Regions from separate parts of the Homo sapiens genome. Here all the other regions are linked to region 1. The links are contacts of gene promoters, found by promoter capture Hi-C in blood cells and fetal thymus (Javierre and others, 2016). All regions are on one chromosome and are shown on one strand. Each heading gives the region's core, a stretch centred on a gene start or on the middle of the fragment in contact. The rest is flanking DNA. Distances are from core to core; before and after follow the strand shown.

The links. Contacts are between HindIII fragments. The CHiCAGO score rates a contact against its expected background, and 5 or more counts as called.
Region 2: a contact is called between a fragment that was not itself captured here and the fragment with the promoter of SEC61G in region 1, in 1 of 17 cell types (fetal thymus). The highest score is 7.9, in fetal thymus.
Region 3: a contact is called between the fragment with the promoter of RP9 here and the fragment with the promoter of SEC61G in region 1, in 1 of 17 cell types (activated CD4 T cells). The highest score is 5.8, in activated CD4 T cells.
Region 4: a fragment that was not itself captured here is called in contact with the fragment with the promoter of SEC61G in region 1 in 1 of 17 cell types (monocytes); the score reaches 5.4 in monocytes.

The regions. Positions count from the first base shown.
Region 1 is chr7:54,757,702-54,760,905 of GRCh38, forward strand. SEC61G (SEC61 translocon subunit gamma) reads right to left here and starts at 1,510. Exons shown (of 4, transcript NM_014302.4): 1 at 1,457-1,510. SEC61G-DT (SEC61G divergent transcript) reads left to right here and starts at 1,612. Exons shown (of 3, transcript NR_110040.1): 1 at 1,612-1,823. RefSeq lists a silencer at 1,160-1,479 and an enhancer at 1,713-2,648. The HindIII fragment of the contact is 2,422 bases long and covers 1-1,920 here.
Region 2 is chr7:97,116,533-97,119,736 of GRCh38, forward strand. It overlaps SDHAF3 (succinate dehydrogenase complex assembly factor 3), which reads left to right and starts at 1,166. Exons shown (of 2, transcript NM_020186.3): 1 at 1,166-1,365. The coding sequence starts at 1,192. RefSeq lists enhancers at 824-903, 1,254-1,343. The HindIII fragment of the contact is 1,525 bases long and covers 807-2,331 here.
Region 3 is chr7:33,107,903-33,111,106 of GRCh38, forward strand. RP9 (RP9 pre-mRNA splicing factor) reads right to left here and starts at 1,502. Exons shown (of 6, transcript NM_203288.2): 1 at 1,319-1,502. The coding sequence starts at 1,470. RefSeq lists silencers at 1,158-1,387, 1,398-1,877. The HindIII fragment of the contact is 9,627 bases long and covers 1-3,204 here.
Region 4 is chr7:33,125,795-33,128,998 of GRCh38, forward strand. No RefSeq gene overlaps it. Among named protein-coding and RNA genes, the nearest start is that of BBS9, 2.2 kb to the right of the region's middle. RefSeq lists an enhancer at 3,183-3,204. The HindIII fragment of the contact is 3,349 bases long and covers 1-3,188 here.

The DNA.
Region 1 (3,204 bases), core at 260-2,759:
ATGGGTCAATTCCACCTCCTAAAATAAAACAAAAAACAAACTCCAAAGCCTAAATTGATATTATTTTTGGAAATTTCAGTTAATTATCAAAGGCAATAAGAAAAGCACAGATCTTACTCATGATATCTTCACTGACAAAGAACAGCACACGCAATATAAAAAGCCTATCTCTATTAAAAGGTTAAAAAAGGTTACGCAATTGGTAACACATCCATTCCTTTTCTCACTCTGCAGTCCCATCCATTTCTCATTCTACAGTCCCCTCACCGCTCCTAAGGAACCATCAGTGTTGAGATCCAACAATTACTTTCCATATTTTATTTTAAACTACGCAGAAGCCAGTGTCTTGTACAGTGAATGCCAACTACGGTGCTGCAAGAGCCTAGAATAGAGGCAAACGTGAATTTCAACCTTGATTTTTCTAAAACGTGCCAATACAACATACTTTTCTAAAGTATAAAGAATGGCTAAAGGAAGACGCAAATTCTGAGAAGCTACTAGCTAAATTTCAAACTTTTCGATTTGAACACATCTTTTAAGGAAACAGGGCTATATATTTTACCATACAGGTTCTTTTGAGGAATCTATTACCCAATAGAAATGTTATCCGATCTTAGCTTTGAGAGCCACTGCTATAGTAAGTAAAGCAGCCAGGGTGTTATTTGTATTTTCCTCCATTTCCAGTACTCAGAACAGTGGCCAGGTGGTAGTTCAAATCACTGGCTATGGAATGTAAACCTCTGTAAGCCCCAGTTGCCTTCCTTAGTGTAGGGTGTGGACAACGAAATGAAATAATGTCAATGAAACACCAGGAATTCTGCAACGTTCTGGGGGCAAAAACACAGTAATGTCTGTTTTCTCAGTATTTCACTCAACTTTGCTCTTGAAATCCAAAGGGCTTAAACTTTTTGTAATCATAGTTGTCACGAAGGAAGCTAAGAATTCTTTATCCAGAAAAACGCACGCTACACACAATACCGCACTCAATGTCAGGGGTAGAGATCCAAAAACCAACTATGATCTCTCGAACTAGACTCTAGACCAATGCTCTCACTTTAAACCACGGAAGCGGCGGCAGGACCAGAGCTGAGTACAGCTCTTCCCAGACAGGACTCCACAACAGCACACAGAGCCAACCCCGAAGGGATCGGGCAGCAGGACATCATCTTTGGCTGCAGCACAGAAGACGCCGGGGCAGGACGCTAAGCCCTGGAGCCCCGCGGGCCGGCCACCCAGCTCGCCGGGAGTCCGCGGCCCTGGGTCTGCCTTCCGCCAGAGGCCGAGTTGGTGGGATGTCGGCGGCCAGACCCCGGCCCTGAGCCAGGGGACCACTTACCGCCCGCCCCGCGACGGCCGCCCGGGGAGACACGCCGGCTCGCCCACGCCCGCTGCCCCCAAGAGTCGCAAAGGTGTGGCCGCCCCGTTCGCCCGTACCGACCGGTGGGAAGAAACTCACCTACCCAACCGACACCTAAAATGCCAGGGACACGTAGCACTGGAGCTTGCTGATGGAGGCCCACCGGAACCGGAATCCGGGTTTCTGCCAACAGCCCGCCCACTCCTCCGTCCTATTGGTTCCTTACGCGAAACCTCAGTGCGCAAGCGCAGCGCGACGTGCGCCCGGCCACGCTTCCTGGAAGAGATGCATTGCGGAGCTCGCTAGTTGGGGCGTTGGCCTTCCTTAGGAGTGTGAGTCTAGCGTTATCCCTTTTTTCCGGCTGGATCCCGGGTTACCCCACCAGCCCGACCTCAACCCACTCACGTCCACAGCACGAGCCCCAGCGGCCTTGCGCGGTGCTTGCTCTCTAGTAGCGGCTGACTAGGTAAATCCTAAGTTGTGGTTTTTTTTCCTGCGGTCCAGCTTGATGTGTGTCCTTACGGTACATACTTTTTGTATGTATATAATGTTGGTCGAAATGAAGCTTATGAGCAATATAATGTTATGGCCTAATTCAAAATAGTATCCCCACCCCAAACTTTGACTTTGGCTGTCATTCACGGTAATGAATGCCGCTGTAATTGAGGCCTTTGTCAAACGCTAGGTTTGGTTACGGGAGTGGTCATAATGTACACACAGCTCCCCACTTACCCACAAGGATGCATTCCAGGAACCCCCCGCCGGATGGCTGAAACCGTCAGTAGAGACGGGGTTTCACCATATTGGCCAGGCTGGTCTTGAACTCCTGACCTCGCGATCCACCCGCCTCGGCCTCCCAAAGTGCTGGGATTACAGACGTGAGCCACCGCGCCCGGCCATGTTTCCTTTTAGCAATGGAGCATAACGGGATCTGAGGAACAATATAACTCAGGAAGAGCTGATGGAACATTAAGACGTGTTACAACTCTCAGTGCTTCTTAAACTTCTTCAGTAACTGAAATCTCCTGTTAAGTTTTTTAGTAAATGAAATTTGTAACCCCAGAACCTCCAGATATTGATTCAGTGGGTCAGGGTTAGAGGTCACACACCTCCGTATATCTGACTGTAGGTGGTCCATACACACTACACATACCTTGCCTTAGCTTTAAGAGTCACTTTTAAATTCTGAACAGACTGAGATGCGTTTGACTAGTTCTTCATCCCTGGGACTTCAGCCCATGTGTCATCTCCTTAGAGGCCTATAGTGACCATCTAAGGCAATCCTGTCTATCTCATGCTCTTTTTTCCTTTTTCACAATACCTTCTTCATTTGCTGCATAGCATTTGTATTAACATTTATTTATTTATTCCTCGGTCTGTCTCCCTACACTGTAAATCCCCTTACTAGACCATAAGCTCCAAGTGGGTATAATATAGCATCTAGTAAAGTGCTAAACACAGTAAATGCTCAATAAATAATTTTCAAAAAAATAATTCATTCCAAAAAAACATAAAATCACATGTTGGCAAGTTCACCCCAACCACCAAATGTCTGAGTTGACAGTATTTTCAGCAAAACACAGAAAATCAAGTAACACATACAGTGGTTCCCCTTATCCAAGAAAATCTGGTTCAAAAAGAGATGTGTACCAGAAGGTAATCTGGGAGAGGCCACATTCAAATAACTTTCATTACAGTGTATTGTTATAATTGTCTACTCACCTGATTTCGGGAGTTTGAGACCAGCCAGACCAACGTGGAGAAACCCCGTCTCCACTAAAAATACAAAAATTAGTCTGGAATGGTGTCGCATGCCTGTAACCCTAGCTACTCAGGAGGCTGAGGCA
Region 2 (3,204 bases), core at 319-2,818, about 42 Mb after region 1:
TTTGGGCAGGACATTATGACGTATTTGCCTTATATGCACATAGTCTGATCAGTTGGCAGCCTGTGATTGGCTGAAGCTCAGCTACTTGTCACAAGAATATACTCTCAGTTGCAGTTAATTTACATACTAAGTTAGGTTGCAGTTCCCTACATAGCAACTCAGAGTAGGGAGGAAATTTTAGGCCAAATTTAATTTAAATTATGTTGGAGCATGACCAAAGTTGGTCATGACCAGAAGCTGAACACAGATATGGAAGCTAACACAATATCCAGTGGAGAGAGATTGTGGTAGAGTACATGGGGCGAAATGGTTGATTTCTGCATTTTTGTTGGTGACGCCATCAGGATTTGCTGAAGAACCAAACGTGTGACAGGAAAGGACAACACAAGGAGCTGCCAGCTTTGGAAACCAGTTCTACTCTCAGTATTACCTTCGCAAAAGATAGAGCTTTGTAAATTTCTAGATTCCTCGTTCTTATTATCCTAGACTATTTAACCAGAATCTCCAGGGTCGTGGTCCTGGAAACAATACGTTTAAAACTCTTCCCAAGGATCCTTCAGCAGCCAACTTGACTTTGGCTAAGGAGTCCGCCAGCTCTGGGCTCACTTGGGTTGTTTGCAAGGAAGAGCCCATGCCCAGAGTATAAATTGGGAGAACAGCGCTGTGCAAAGAGCGTGGGTTGGTGAGCTAGTGGATGGCGAGATTAATCTCACTCTGATCCCTAAAGCAGGGTGCAGTAATACTCTAAATGCCTCAAATGGGTTGGGAACCATGGAAGGAATCCCGGAGGAGCCCGATCTTAACGAAGCTTTTCTCAGGCCTTTGGTAGGAGGACAGAAACGAAGTTGAATGAAAAAGACAGTGGAGTGGGACTGAGAAATGACAACGGCCCACCACAGACCTCTCTCTTTCAAGGCCTGTGTCGTCAGGACGCAGGCCAGAAGAAGCCACGACGAGGCGCAGGCGCGACTCCACGAGGGCCACGCCCCTCCTAGAGAAGGACCGACCCGTTTTCCGCCCGCAGCGGAGCTTGGGTTTCCGGGAGGACCTGATTGTGCAAGGGACCAAACCGGATAGAGGTCGCGCGCCCTCTTTCGTCTGCCTTCCGGTTCACTAATACGCAAGTTCGCAGAAGTGCGGGAACGCGCCGTCCCTCTGCGCAGGCGCAGTCGGCGGTCGGCGTGGGGCGCTATGCCGGGGCGGCACGTTTCTCGAGTCCGGGCATTGTACAAGCGCGTCTTGCAGCTGCACCGTGTTCTGCCCCCGGACCTCAAATCCCTGGGCGACCAGTACGTGAAAGACGAATTTAGGAGACATAAGACCGTTGGTTCTGACGAGGCACAGCGTTTCTTGCAAGAATGGGAGGCAAGTGACGCTCCCTTCTCTTTGCCCAAGACCTTTGGGGTTCCTCGGTGTCCAGGTTTCTAGTTCCAGTCCCCCATGCGGGGTTAAACAGAGCAGCAACCTGTTCTGTTTGAAATAGCGTAATGCTGTTCAGGTAACACTTTCCAAAGTTTCTCCCACGGGTTTCTCACTAGAGCAGATCCTGTTACTTCAGCGTCCCCAATTCAGTTCAACTTTTGAGCTCCTGCAGATGCCAGGTGCTCAAAGGGTGAGGGTAGGAGGTCACAAAAATGAGCAAGTCGTCGTTAAGTGCTCAAAAACCTCAGGAGCTTTTTGTCCTTTTAAGTGCCTTTGCACCTAGTAAGCGCCCATTAATAAATTAATGGTTCTCTTATTAGTTTTCAAATTTAAAGGCTTATTTCCGTAATTTATTATTTAATCTCAGCGCTTTTGGTTGGGTTTAAATAATTTTCTCACTTGGCTGATACAGAAATCAGGTAACATGAAAAAGATTACAAAAGGTTGGAGATTACAAACTGTGAAGGAGAAAAATGCTGGTGGCAGTTAAGTCAGGCGAAAGTTGTTTCCTCCGGTCTCAAGTCATTGTTACTTCGCCCTGCACCATTGCGCTAAATATTAAACAGACACATGCATTAGCAATAAGTCGTTTGACTTTTTTTTTTTTTTTTTGAGTAAAGGAAAAAAGATATTCAGAGTATTTCGTGGGGCTCGGGGCCCTGCAGGATTGCCCCTAGTTTTCATTTGCAAATATAAATAAATGAATGGAATTAGAGATTGGAATGACAGCTCAGATATTTGAAAGCATGAGTTGGAGCTGATATGAAAATAGAGGTAAGCGGTTCTTCGGCCTAAATAGTTGAAGGGGAGATGACTGAAGTCGGCTTTGTAAAAAAAAATCAAAAGAATGGTTAGGGTGAACACAAACTTTGCACTGACTTCCAGAATTCTTTTTTGTATAATTATTGAAGCTTTTAAGAGCGACATTTAGAACAATCGGGAAATTTAGAACTTTCTTGAAAATCATGGTGTATTTGATGTAATTCGCTTGCCTGAAGCAGGGAAGTTGAAGCTTTTCAGACACAGAGCACTTTATTTTAATAAGGTAATTTGGTTTTGGAGCCTGAAGAACTGGATTCAGATTCAGTCTCTGACATTTTAAGTGTCAGATCACATAATTTTTCTAGTCTTATTTTCTCATCTATAAAATAATAAGTGTTTATGCATCTCAAAATTTACGTATGTAAATGTATTTACAAGCACTTGTGTATTGCTAATTGTTATGAAGCTATAAGATACTGTATTAAAGTATTTTACATCTTTTATGGTAGGTCATTTTGTGGCCGTACAGGAAGGAGAGTAGCTCTCTGTTGGGAGGAAATAAGGTTATTTTAAGAAGTCTTAAAATGTAAGCACATGGAAGCCTCTTTGGGAAAAAGTAGGAAAGAGTAGCAACTCAGAAAAAATTGATAATAGGTTGTAGGAGAGAGAGAGGGTATAAAAAAGAACTGCATAAATAAAAAATGTGTTAGTTGACCTAGTAGGCTTGGTAACTGGGATTGAGCTTTTTAAAACTTGGAATAATTTTAGACATACAGAAGAGTTAGAAAGACAGTAGAGAGTTCCCTACATCCTGTTTCCCCCTGTGTTAGCATCTTACATAATCAGGGTACAGTGATCAAAAACAAGAAATTAACATTGCTACAATGCTGTTAACTACAGACTTTATTTACAATTTGCCAGCCCTTTCACTAATGTCCTTATTCTGTTCCAGGATCCAATGGGGATTCTACAATGCATTTAGTTATTCTTTTTCCTTAATCTCCATTCTGTGACAGTTGC
Region 3 (3,204 bases), core at 252-2,751, about 22 Mb before region 1:
ATGTACAGAAAAGCAAATGAGGTAGAGAAATAGCTGGATTCCATACAGCCTGGCGTTTGCCTTCTTTGAACAGGGTTTCAAAGGCTGACCACCTGTGACGGCCTGAAAATCAGCTGCTGTGATTGTCTGAGACTCAGGTACTTATAACAGTAGGTTACAGTCTGTTTACACATCTACTTAGGTTACAGTTCACTAAGTACAGAGAAACTTTTAGGCTAAACTTAAAATATTCAAGGAGGCAGCGTTAGGCTATACTTAACACCTACTTAGCACAGGTAACTAGAAGTGGCTAAAACAGAAACGAATTCTTGAATAACTGAGTGAATGCCACACTTAGAAAAGGTTGTTTTATGCAGCTAATTATAGAATCACGGACAAGAACTGAAAGAGTTGCTGCCTGAACTTTCCACTCGAGGTCTGTGTTAGAATTTAGGAAACGCCACCCTGATAAATGACTGCAAAAGACAAGAATGCACCATCCCCAAACATGCCACCCTGGCATATTGATGACTTTGAGCTATAAGTAACAGAACCAAACAACACAGGATAACTTATTCAGCTACCCCTCAACTGCCTAAAATAAAGTATGACTGCTTTTTTTCCTTTTGTTCTTATTATTTTTCGACTCGCCTGTTGTAAACAGAAATTTACACCTATAAAGGAAATTTTCTGTAGTAAATGTATCTGTATCAGGAAGACAGCTGCTTGGGGGCAACTTTTATCGCCTGAGCGCCTCATCGGGATAACAAAGCAACCTTTATTCACCATACATTTCCCCCATCACCCTTCCAAAAGGTCTCCACCACGCCCCAAAAGGCCCACGCCCCTATTCCCTGGCCCTTCTTTGTCTCCCACTTTTGTGGCCCTCTAGTGCACGGGTACATAATTAAAAGTTTTTCTCCTGTTAATCTGTCTTATGACAATTTAATTTGTGGCCCAGCTTAAGAACTTAGAAGGGTAGAGGGAAACCATATTTCCTTCCCCTACATTTGAATCTTCTTTACACCACACTCTCCCGGGTCATTTGGACTCTCCTGGAACCCCCTGGAGCTAGGGAAGCGCAGGGCCTCCCAAGTCAGATTCTGCTTGGTGCCGAGCGGCAGTTGGCTCCCTGAACGCCCCGCCAGGAGGATGGACTTCAAGTCCTTGACCGCGGCGCCCGACATCGGTCGCCCGCACCAGGCTCCTGCCGGGCCCAGCCCCCCTGCCTGCTCGCGGGGGCTCGGAGGACCCGGCCTAGCGCCCACCGCGGCGTCCCGCGCCCCGGGCCCCTGGCTTCAGAAGACTGGCCGCGCGCGGACGGCAGCTCGGGACTCACAAGGACTCCAGGTGCTTGAGCTGCTGCAGCTGCTGCGCGTCGTGTCGCCGCCGCTTCTGCTCCCGACGTCGCTGCAGCTCCTGCTCCGGCGGCTCACGCGGCCGCCGCGCGCCCGCAGCCCCCACGTCCTCGCGCCCAGGCCGGGACGACATGTCAGCCCCCGCAGCGCCGCTCGGGCAACCCCCGCGGCGCGGCTCCGGCGGCGGCGGCGGCGGCGGCGGCAGCCAAGAGAGCACTTCCTCCGCGCGGCGGTCGCGGGGCTTCGCAGCGCCCCCTCCCGCCGCCGCCCCGCAACTCACCCCGGCGGCCCCGAAGTCTCAGCCTCGGCCACCCGATCCCCGCCTCCCCGCGTCGGGCCCCAAGTCAGGGGCTCCGGGTCTCGGGCCCAGCCGCCAGGCGGGCTGCTGCGGGTGGGTGGGGAGCGCCGCCTAGCTGGAGCCGAAGCGGGGCGAGGCGCTAGTTGGGAGCCTGGAGGTTCCCGCCCGGCCACACCCACCTCAGGTATACTAGCAACAGTCACATAGGGATGAGCAGATGAAATGTATTCATAAAAAAATGTTCAAATTAGCCAGGCGTGGTGGCGGGCGCCAGTAGTCCCAGCTACTTGGGTGGCTGAGGCAGGAGAATTGCTTGAACCCAGGAGGCAGAGGTTGCAGTGAGCCGAGATGGTGCCCCTGCACTCCAGTCTGGGCGAAAAAGCGAGATTGTCTCTCAGAAAAAAAAAAAAAAAAGTGTTCAAAAAGTGAAATGTATAAACATATAATTATGTTCGGTAATAGTGTGCACCCAGCTTTATAACTGCGGTCATCTGATATACCATGAGAGACAACCTAACTCTTTTGACAGGATGGGTCACCATGACGTCACCACTGTGCCAGTCACCCGAGGAGCCAAGATCCTGAGAAATTTCATCTTTCACAAATGCAGATGTACAGAAAAGACACTTATTTATTTATCGAGGAAATTTCTACATTTTTGCATATATGTAGAATGCTTACACAGTCACCATTGTAATAATGAGCTTTGATTGAGTCATATTTGCAAAAAATGCATAAAACAAATTTGAACTCTCTAAAAGTCTTTATATAGTTGATGCCTCCAGTATTAGAAATGATGTTAAGATGTAATACATAGCATAGTGAATTGTAAAACATAATGCTGACAATTTACAATAATGAAAAAGCTAAAAGAGAAAATAGAAAAACGAAAGCAAACTAAAAAGAAAATTCAACATAGAAAAAGTGTATTGCAGGGATAGATTATGGGCAATTGCATGGCGATTGTCCACATGAACTGCCCAACTTTTATGATGATTAACATATTTTGAAGTCTTGCATCATGATGAATAGCTTTTTTTTTTTTCTTTTAGGACATGGCTCTCCTCGATGATACAGTCTCATTAATTTTCTATGTGATACTGCTCTTTCCAAAATTCTTTTTAACTTTTTAAAGTTTTTTATTTTGTAGAGACGGGGTCTCGCTATGCTGCTTAGGCTGGCCTTGAACTCCTGGCCTCAAGCAATCCTCCTGCCATAGCCTCCCAAAACACTGGGATTACAGGTGGGAATCACTGCACCTGACTATGAAATTATTTTGTGATTTGATATTCTCTGACTTCTCTTTGTGCTTTCTTTCTGTTGTACCCTCCTGTCCATGAACCCCTCTGTTTTTCATTTTATTCTTCTGCCCCCTCCTAAGACACCAGAGATTCATTCTTGAGGCCAGTCAAGCAGCCTTGGTGTTGGCCCACTGGTGGGGCAGCTGCAGTTGGTCCTTAGTCTGTGCTACTGGACAGGTTTTAAACCTTTCAGAATGGAGCAACTAAAAAAAGAATAGATTTTCTCCTGCTTGTATTGATCACCCTTCACAGTGTAATCTTGACACCA
Region 4 (3,204 bases), core at 264-2,763, about 22 Mb before region 1:
TTTTTTTTTGAGATAGGGTTTCACTCTGTCATGCAGGCTGGAGTGTAGTTGCACGATCATGGCTCACTGCAGTCTTGACCTACTGGGCTCAAGCAGTCCTCCAACTTCAGCCCCCTTAGTAGCTGAGATTAAAGGCACACGTAACCACGCCCGGCTAATTTTTGTATTTTTTGTAGAGACAGGATTTTGTCATGTTGCCCAGGCTGGTCTCGAACTCCTGGGCTCAAACGATCTGCCCACCTCGGCCTCCCAAAGTGCTTGGATTATGGACATTGCACCCGTCTGGTAATATCATTTCTTGAGGTAGAGTTTTGCTTTTGAAATTTCTCAGATTTCGTATCTCAGTGGTTCAAATTTGCCATGTCTTGCTATTTGATTTCCAGGTCATATATCATTGCATTCAGGTTTTCTCCTCTTTAGAAAGCCTGGGATGGTAACTCTCTCCTTCAATTTTTTCATCAGTTGCTATACAATTTTTTTTTTTTGGTTCTAATTGCTGGTATGGCCTGACACTAAAGGTTTATCCTGAAGGCCTAGAAATCAATGCTCTTTTTCAATATAACTTGATTCTGTACTCTTGGCTTTTCTTGATACATGTGAATTGTTATAATCATGACCTGGGACACATCTTCCTGTATCTGATTAAATTCAAGTACCCTTTTCATCAGATTCGACCTCCAGGTTATCTAAATGAGCTCCCCAAAAGGAGAAACAATCACATTGCAGAAAGTTTTTCTTTACTTTTTTGGTACCTGGCCTAAGGAAGATTATACATTTTATCAACATAATTTCCTGTGTTGCTTTTATTAGATTTGATTTTTTTTTAACCTGAAGTTTAAAATGGTTAAGATAGTTTTAATGTAATTATTTGTATGGCTTTTTAAGCCTTTTGATTATCACTCTGGTTATATAAATGACTTATTTCACAAGTAACTTGTGATTCTGTATTGATACAGTGTTTTGAGCCCTTTAAAAACTTCCTCAAAATCAAATTCCAATTTAAGTTTTTTAAATGTAGAATTAACTTTGGAATTTTCCAGTTGGACTCCTGGAAAGCATTAAAACATATCTTTCTCATCTTTTAGAGGTATTAAATGATTTGGGTTATTTGGTAAATTTTATAAGAAATATTGTCAAACGATAACTGATACTAGATTTTTCTTTTATTTGCATTTATGGGAATATTGTTTATATGAATGTTTGAAAAATTATATAAGTCCATACAAGTATGCTGGGAATGATGGCTCATGCCTATAATCCCAACACTTTGGGAGGCTGAGGTCAGAGGATTACTTATAGCCAGGAATTTGTGTCCAGCTTGGGCAACAAAACAAGACCCTGTCTCTATTAAAACAAAACAAAACAAAACAAAAACAAAAAAAACCAAAAAAAAACCAAGCATGGTGGTACAAACGTGTAGTCCCAGCTACTTGAGAGGCTGAGGCAGAAGGATTGCTTGAGTCCAGGAGTTTGAGATTGCAGTCAGCTATGAATGTGCCACTGCACTCTAGCCTGGGCAATAGAGCAAGACCCCATCTTTAAAAAAAATTCGTACAAATGTATTATATTACCAGTCATAATTCTGGTTATCTTAAAATACTGTATATAATAGCAATAAATAAATGTTCTTCTCAGTTGTTAACTTCATCAGATTTTTAACCATGGCTATTTTAAGTTTTTGTCATCCATATTATTGTTTTGAATTCTTTTTTAAAAAACAGACTCCTGGAAAATATTCTAACAAGTACTCTTTTATTTTTATTTATTTATTTTTGAGACAATCTTGCTCTGATGCCCAGGCTGGGGTGCAGTGGCACGATCCTGGTTCATTGCAACCTCTGCCTCCCTGGTTCCAGTGATTCTCATGCCTCAGCCTCCTGAGTAGCTGGGATTACAGGCATGCGCTACCACGCTGGGTTAATTTTTTGTATTTTTAGTAGAGATGGGGTTTCACTATATTGGCCAGGCTTTTCTCCAACTCCTGGCCTCAAATGATCCTCCCGCCTTGGCCTCCCAAATTGCTGGGATTACCGGCATGAACCATTGTGCCTGGCCCTAAAATATACTCTTAGATTTGGGTTTCTAACAACTTGAAGATCAATGGACAATATAACAATTTCCAGAACTGTAATAAAAAAGTGGGTTCATGAAACTATTAATCAAGATCAGGCAGAACAAGAATTAATTACGTGAGTTTAACTAATGAAGACAATGTTTTTATGATATTATTTCAAATGTTGTTGGTTCTTTACTCAAATAGTTTTTTCCAGATTTAAGAAAATCTTGTCTTTTAAGCTATTTATAATTTACAGCAATTTGATAGAGTATACTTGTGTAAAAAAAGATAAAAACTTTTTTTCTCTTTACTTGATTCCTCCATAATTAGAAAACCATTTGTGAGTCTTCTTATGGTAATATGGTCATTTCAATAAGTCTAATAAAAATCTGCTCTCTCTGTATAGCAGAATACAATTGGAAACTGGTTATATTACCAAGGCTTTGACTGAAAGGTCATTTTTAAAAATATTGAGGCCGGACGCGGTGGCTCACGCCAGCAATCCCAGCACTTTGGGGGACTGAGGTGGGTGGATCGTTTGAACCCAGGAGTTCGAGAGCAACCTGGACATGGCGAAACTCCATCTCTACAAAAAATACAAAAATTAGCCAGGTGTGGTGGTCTGTGCCTGTAGTCCCAGCTTACTAGGAAGGCTAAGGTGGGAGAATCGTTTGAGCCCGGGAGGCTGAGGCTTCAGTGCTTCAGTGAGCAGTGATCCTGTCACTGCACTCCAGTCTAGGCGACCCTGTCAGGGAGACCCAGTCTCAGTTAAAAAAAAAAAAAAAACCCAAAACCCAAAAAACTAAAACTAGAATGGTATTTTCTACTGGGAATGTGGATTTGTGGATTGATGGTGAAATACTGGAAATTTAAAGCCTACACTAGAATCCATTGAAAAAAGCAAACAAGAAAAACTTCAAGGTTGGCTACATTGAATTTGAATGTAAAGATTAAAAAAAAATAAGTAAAAAACAAAAGAAGACATAGATCCAATCCCATATACCAGGAAATGCACTCTAAGGTATATACGGAAAATATATTTAACACATGTGTATCAGGACGCAGGCACAAGTAACTTCAAAGCAGCGCTGTTTCAAATAGTAAAAAAAGGAAAAACTGGAAACTGTTCAAAAGCTTCATCATCTCGA